Regions from separate parts of the Homo sapiens genome. Here region 1 is linked to region 2. The links are contacts of gene promoters, found by promoter capture Hi-C in blood cells and fetal thymus (Javierre and others, 2016). All regions are on one chromosome and are shown on one strand. The core of a region is centred on a gene start or on the middle of the fragment in contact, and the rest is flanking DNA. Distances in the headings are between cores, read along the strand shown. Region 1 overlaps BCAS3 (BCAS3 microtubule associated cell migration factor). Region 2 holds the start of LINC02875 (long intergenic non-protein coding RNA 2875).

What was found. Contacts are between HindIII fragments. The CHiCAGO score rates a contact against its expected background, and 5 or more counts as called.
Region 1: a contact is called between a fragment that was not itself captured here and the fragment with the promoter of LINC02875 in region 2, in 1 of 17 cell types (total CD8 T cells). The highest score is 5.6, in total CD8 T cells.

Annotation. Positions count from the first base shown.
Region 1 is chr17:61,039,307-61,042,671 of GRCh38, forward strand. It overlaps BCAS3 (BCAS3 microtubule associated cell migration factor), which reads left to right. Exons shown (of 24, transcript NM_017679.5): 19 at 1,486-1,586. All of the region lies in intron 4 of BCAS3-AS1 (BCAS3 antisense RNA 1), which reads right to left. Among named protein-coding and RNA genes, the nearest start is that of BCAS3-AS1, 95 kb to the right of the region's middle. The HindIII fragment of the contact is 198 bases long and covers 1,252-1,449 here.
Region 2 is chr17:61,410,078-61,413,244 of GRCh38, forward strand. It overlaps LINC02875 (long intergenic non-protein coding RNA 2875), which reads left to right and starts at 1,674. Exons shown (of 1, transcript NR_160788.1): 1 at 1,674-3,167. RefSeq lists an enhancer at 389-971 and silencers at 851-1,020, 2,541-2,600, 2,621-2,680. The HindIII fragment of the contact is 15,544 bases long and covers 1-3,167 here.

The DNA.
Region 1 (3,365 bases), core at 101-2,600, 370 kb before region 2:
ATTATATGGTTATACTGCATTTTGTTTATCCATTTATTAGTTGATGGATATTTCTACTTTTTAAGCTGTTATTAAATAATGTTGCTGTGAACATTCATGTACAGATTCTTGTGTGAACATTTTTTTTTTTTCCTGAGATGGAGTCTTGCTCTGTCACCTAGGCTGGAGTGCAGTGGCGTGATCTCGGCTCACTGCAAGCTCCACCTCCCAGGTTCACACCATTCTCCTACCTCAGCCTCCTGAGTAGCTGGGACTACAGGCACTAGCCACCACGCCAGCTAATTTTTTGTATTTTTACTAGAGACAGGGTTTCACTGTGTTAGTCAGGATGGTCTTGATCTCCTGACCTCATGATCCACCCACCTCGGCCTCCCAAAGTGCTGGGATTACAGGCGTGAGCCACCGCGCCGGCCCATGAACATATTTTTTTAATTGTCTTCTGTATGTACCTTGGAGAATACCTCTGTTTGAACTTATTTCCCCCTTGCACTTCTGTGTTAAATTTTCTTGGATTTATGCTTCCTCTATTTGCAATCTCATGCTCACCGAAAATAGAGAGTAACATTGAGATAGCCATTAAGGGGAATAGAAACTAATATAGATAGATTCAAAGGTTTCTCTGAAAGTAATTCTCCAAGATACAGTGGTTAAGCCTTATAGGAATGTTTATTAAGAATCAGAGTCCATCTCAAACGTGCATAATGATTAGAATCTTTATAAGCTATAACCAAAAGGAAAAAAAACCTGGAATAAAACCTCTTTAATATAGTTCATTGTCCAGGAAAGAAAAAATTGCTCCTGACATGTATGGAAGGAAACAGACAAAAATGGATATGAAAATGATCCCTGTCCTTTTGACATTTTAAAATATTCTTGTATTGATTTTTGGAGGCTCCAGCATTCTTTACTACTACTTTACTATGCTGGATTGATCTGATCAATATCTGATTTATCAAGCTTATTTAGGAGTGGGCAGATCTAATTAAAGTTACTACACTATCATTGTTGAAATAGTAACTTATTTCAGAACTCAGATGCTAATTTGATCTATAATAAGTCATCCATTTACACAGCTGTGTTTTATTAACCATTTTTACCTACTTCATTTTATTTTAAAATATACACATATTTTAAGAATAGAGAGGTCAGAAATTACATAAATTAGAACTAGTTAGTTGTAACATTTGAATTTTACACCTGTTTAATCTTCTGAATGTCTTGCCTATCCTGTTGGAGGGTCTTCTGCTGTTAAGCTTATATTGACTGCATGTTATTTGTATGAAAGACTGCCACCTTTTTATTTTTTCTAAGCAGATGGCCTTGTGTTTCAGGTTTCATCACATTCATTTTAATGATTACAAGTTCATTTTAATGATCACAAAAGTAGTGTGAGTTTAAGTCACTGTTCATAAGTGATGACAGTCATGGTGATTTACATCCCATCTATTAAGCTTAAATATTAATATTCTTCTCCTGTTTCCTTAGAACCCCTCAATGGAATGAATTGCAGCCACCGTTTAATGCAAACCACCCTCTGCTCCTCGCTGCAGATGCAGTACAGTATTATCAGTTCCTGCTTGCTGGCCGTAAGTAGTTCAGATTTTTTTTTTCCTTTCGTATGGTCTATTCAGATTTCATCTTAAAATGCTAGCTTTGAAAGCAAACATTACCACTGGTCCATAGGCCATGGGCCTTAAAGAATCAGTTTGAGGCAAATAAGATATTTAATATGAATATAAACTGTAAGCCTTAGTATACATTATGTCTCTGACTGCTTATATTCTTTACCTATGAAATATATTTCTGTAATAAAAGTTAAGTTGATAGGGAATATCTGGAGGGCTCAAAAATTCAAACAAACATAAAAACCACCACCTGAAAATGCTAGGATATAATAAAAAGTTTCATAAAGCTTGGAATCTGTTTCTAACATGGAAAAAAAAAAACCCCAAAACTTAGCACAGTTAAAAGTGCAACTATGAAAACAATGCCAGCAGGCTTTTCTTTTGGTAGAATTTTACTTGCAATAATGAGGTAAAGATTTCAACTACATTTGTTAATTTGTTTGTTTACTTATATGTTTAAGCGTGAGCATTTGTAGAGACTGAACCAAGTTCATTGACCTAGATAACAGCTTTTTATATGGGAGTCATTTAAAGGCAATTTAGTATTTATTATCCAGTTTGCGTTTATAGAATTAAAAATTATTTACAATTATAATTCAGTTTTGTAGATATAGACAGAATCCTTAATTTAATTTGATGGCTCTGAGTAGTGCACGCTTTAAAGAAAATTCTTAAAAATCAACATTGACATGTTTTTAATGAAACTTTGTTGTATTTAACACATTGTCTTGCCCGGTATATTAGAAAGCATGAATTAAAATAGTTGTCGAATGATTTTATTTTATCTTTATAATGTGCTATATATTATACTGGAAACAGAAATATTTTATAGACTTTGCTCTCAAGTTATGAAACTCTATAACTGTAATCAATAGTTGGCAGTCTTGCTCTCTCATATTATTGTTGAACTCTCTGCTTTTTCTAGGGCATTTTTATTGAGTGCCTACTATGTGTGAGGCAGTTCTGATTTAAAGGTGATTAGTATATTGCTTCTCTCCTCAATGAATTCCCTAATTCAGGAGATAGACATTTAATAAAAAAGTAAAATAAAGTGGGGTAGGTGTGTCAGTGGAGGGTTATAAATTGAACTGTGAGAGCAGTGACGTGTGTTGCCTATGGCATCACAGACGGGTGATATGTAAGTGGTTTTCGGGTTGATTCAAGAAGCAGTGCATATAGAAGTTGTTAGTTTCTAGATTTTTTAAGCATATATTTAACTATCATATGAACTGGAAAAATACATGACATGAATATGATATGAAATAAGAATCATGAGTACATTTTCCATTACCTCTCAAGGAGCAAAACTAATTGTTGAATTAAGCATAGTTGACTCTTTCAGAGTTAATATTGTGTTTTGTGTTGTTATTTTGATACCTATTAAGTCTATTTAATAGACATACTATAACAAGTCTGAAATATTTATAAAACACATAGGGGAAAAGATATAGCTATATCTATCTCTTAATTGTTTTTTGTTCCAGTGATTGACCTTATTGACATTACACTCTGCTTGATTTTAGCTGCCCTAAACACCTTTGTCTAATGCTCAGAACAACAAAAATCCCCAGGTGCATAATTTAAGAACCACCACTGTTGGCAGTAGTAAGCCATTACATGTTTTCAAGCATAGGAATGACACCATCAAAATTGTATTTTAGAAAGATCATTCTGGGCTGGGCGCAGTGGCTCACGTCTGTAATCCCAGCACTTTGAGAGGCTGAAGCGGGAGGATCACTT
Region 2 (3,167 bases), core at 424-2,923:
CTTGGGAGAGTGGAGAGTGGGGTCAGTGGGCTATTTCCATTCCTGCCTCAGTTTCCCCTGTATAATAATGGGCTTGGCTGGGGTCTCTCCGGGGTCCAGCTGTGTCAGTCTCCATTAGGCTGGTCCTTCCCCGAGACCCACTCCTGCAAGGACAGCTGCCTCCCACCCCGCGCCGGTGAGCTCCCCCTCCTTGCCCAGCTAGCAGGTGTCTCCAGCCCCCACTTCTAGCAGTGGGAGCTGGGCGGGCACTCCTTTAGCCCTGGGTCTGGTCGGTCACCGAGCACGCCACCTCCTTCCCAGTTCTCTCCTCTTTAAGCCTTGGGGACCCTGAACGCCCTGCCCCAACAGGCTGCCCACCTTGGGCACTGCACAGGGTGGGGCTTGGGGAGGGTGCTGGCTTCCAAAACACCAGGGACGTTGAGATGGAGGAACGGTGATGGTGAAGGTGGAATGGACAGTTGGGCCCCCAGACTCCCAGGACGCCTTTGTGGGCCGATACATTTGCAAGGAGCGAGAGAGAGAGAACCAGGCCCGCCTCTTCAGGATGGTGCTGCCCCCAGGCCACGCCGAATGCGGCTGGAGCAGGGAGGGGACTCAGCCAGTGCACGAGTGGGAGGTTGCAGTAGAACGTATCCCAACCCCAGAGGGTGGGTTCTGGCTTCCCTGCCTCAGACCTGCGGGCAGGTCCGGGAACCCGACAGGGACAGAGAAGCCCGTTTTCCAGCCTAAATAGAAGCTCGTGGGCAGCGCGTTTGCTGGAGGTCGCTTTGGGCTGAAACGCCTCTCATACTCCTAGAGGAGCGGCGCGTTTGCGTCCCGCGGCTTCTCACTTTCAGCAGGACATTAGGAGGGAGACGAGAGTCGGCTGCGCGCCCGCGGCGGCCTACGTACAGGGCTGCGGACACCAGGGGGCAGCACCGACTTAGGGTCGCGGGAGGGGTGCGGGTGCGGGCATGGGCGCGGGGGAGGCGGGTGCCTGCGAAGGCCGGGCGGGGCGGCCTAGTCGCGGCCGTTTTTAGGCCGCGTCGTTGCTGCAGCAACCCGGGTGGGGTGGGGTGGGACTCCAGGGCCTCGAGATCCCCCACACCACTTTCGCCGCCACCTCCCGCCGCACATGTCCCCTCCGAGTCGCCCACCCGGCGCTCCGCGGGGCCCCAGCTGGTAGCCTGAGTGCGACTGCGGGAACCCGCGGCCGGCGGCTGGGCCTTGTCCCAGACAAAGGCTAGGCCACTCCCATGTCCAATTAAGCCACCCTCCTCCCCGGCCTCCCAGCCCTCATTGTCCCCGGGGTCGCCAATTAGCCTAGGCGCCCGGCGTACCCGCCGCTCCGGTGCCGCAAGGCCTCCTTAACCCTTCAGGGCCTGGCCCGGGGTCCTTGGACGGCAGAGCCGCCGGCACACGCGTGGCAGGAGGGCCAGTGCTGGGACGATGGCGATACCTGCTGGCGGCCTAGCCTGTCGCCTCGGGCTCTCGCGTGTGGGGCGTGTGAGGTCTAAGAGGGAATTGTGCGTGTCGGTGTGGGGTGGCGCGTGCGATTCCCGGAGGAACTCGGAGATGGAGGGTGTGAGTGCAGGGGCTCCGAGAGACCCCTAGCGGCTAAGCCGCCCGGATCCCAAGGCCCAGGGGACCTCATTTCCTCTCGGGTTAATCGGAATCTTCCGAGCCCTCAAGCCCTTCCTCCTCCACTCCCCCGCCGCTGCTGTGGAGAACCGGAGCCACCGGTATGGCCTGGCCCTGCCCTCCCGAAGGCCGCAGCTCCCGGGCCCGCCTCCCCAGCTGACCGCGAACTCCTGCGTGGGGTGCTCCTGGGGCGGGAGGGGCGCGCTCAGCCTCGCTCTCCCCGGGACTCTCACGCTCAAGCGCCCCGGCTTGAGGCCGGGACCCCCTATTTCCCGGTTATGGGACGGCCCCTTGAGGGACAGCCTCTACGAGCCCTGGATTTATACCCCGAGCCTGCCTTCCTCCGCTCTGGGAAGGACCCAAAATCCAGTCCCGCTTCCTCCCCCTCCTTCGCTGTCCTTGGCCCCGAGGTGCGGAGCACCGGCGGTCAGGCGGGATCCCGCAGGAGGCCGAGCGCTCCCTGCTCGCAGGACAGGGCGGCAGCGGAGGGAGCCCCCGCCCTCTTGGGAGGAAGCCCGAGCTCCGGGTCTCCTGGGCACCCTCCCGGGAGCGCCTTCGGGGTGGAGGCTGGTTGCCGGGCGCTGAACGTGTCCGAGCACGCCCGGGGCGGTTTTGCACTTGGACTTCCTTTTGGGCTCTCCGGAGGCGCATATCTGTTCCTCCTATTGGATGGGGCCGGGGACCCCAAACCCACTCCGGAAGCACCGATTTCCAGCGCTGACGGCCGCGCCTGGTTTCCCAGCGAGTCCTCTTGGCAGCTCCCGCAGCTCCCCGCCGGGAGCACGAGTGGGAGCGAACCCAGAGCCCGCCCAGGCCTCGGGCCTCGGCAACTCCTCACAGGTCCACGAGATGGCGCTGCAGGCCAGGGCCCGGGCCGCGGCCTCACAGCCCGCCTCGGGCGAGAGCGGGAGATAGACTGCGGACCCCGGCAAGCGGGGCACGGAGGCACAGCCACCGACACAGGCAGAGCCGGGTCCGGAGCCCGGCACAGGCCGCCGAGGGACCGAGGGACTCCGGGGCTGCGGACACACTGAGCGGAGGGCTTGAGGCTCGGGGTGGGGCCTTCTCCCCTGCTGCCAGAACCGCCCGGCAGCGCCAGCTCGGCGACCTTCCAGGCTGCTGCAGACCCCAGCTTGTCCTCTTCTGCGCGCCCGCGGGGCTGGGCCCTCGCGTTCTCTCTGCGGGAAGTGAGCCGCCGGCCTCCGGCCTCCTGGGCCCCTCCGAAGGGGGCTGTGGCTGGCATCCGCAGCGCGCGGGGCGCACGGCCCTAGGAGCGCGGGGCCCACTCGACGGTGAGGACTTACGGGCGGGATAGGGGAAGGATCGGCGGGGATCCAGCGCTCCTCCAGCGGAGAGGGCCCCCTCGGCTCCGACCCGCCCTCCTCACCACCCTCATCCGGCTCTTCAGGGCGGGGTCTTCAGGGTCGAGGGCAGGATGTGCCCTGTGGAGCTGCTCACCTAAGTTCCTGCCTCCATAGGGGAGGCTTTGGGCTGCGTTATTCCAGCGGGAGGTGGTGGGGACTGGGGAGGGCCCAGGGGTCAGCCTG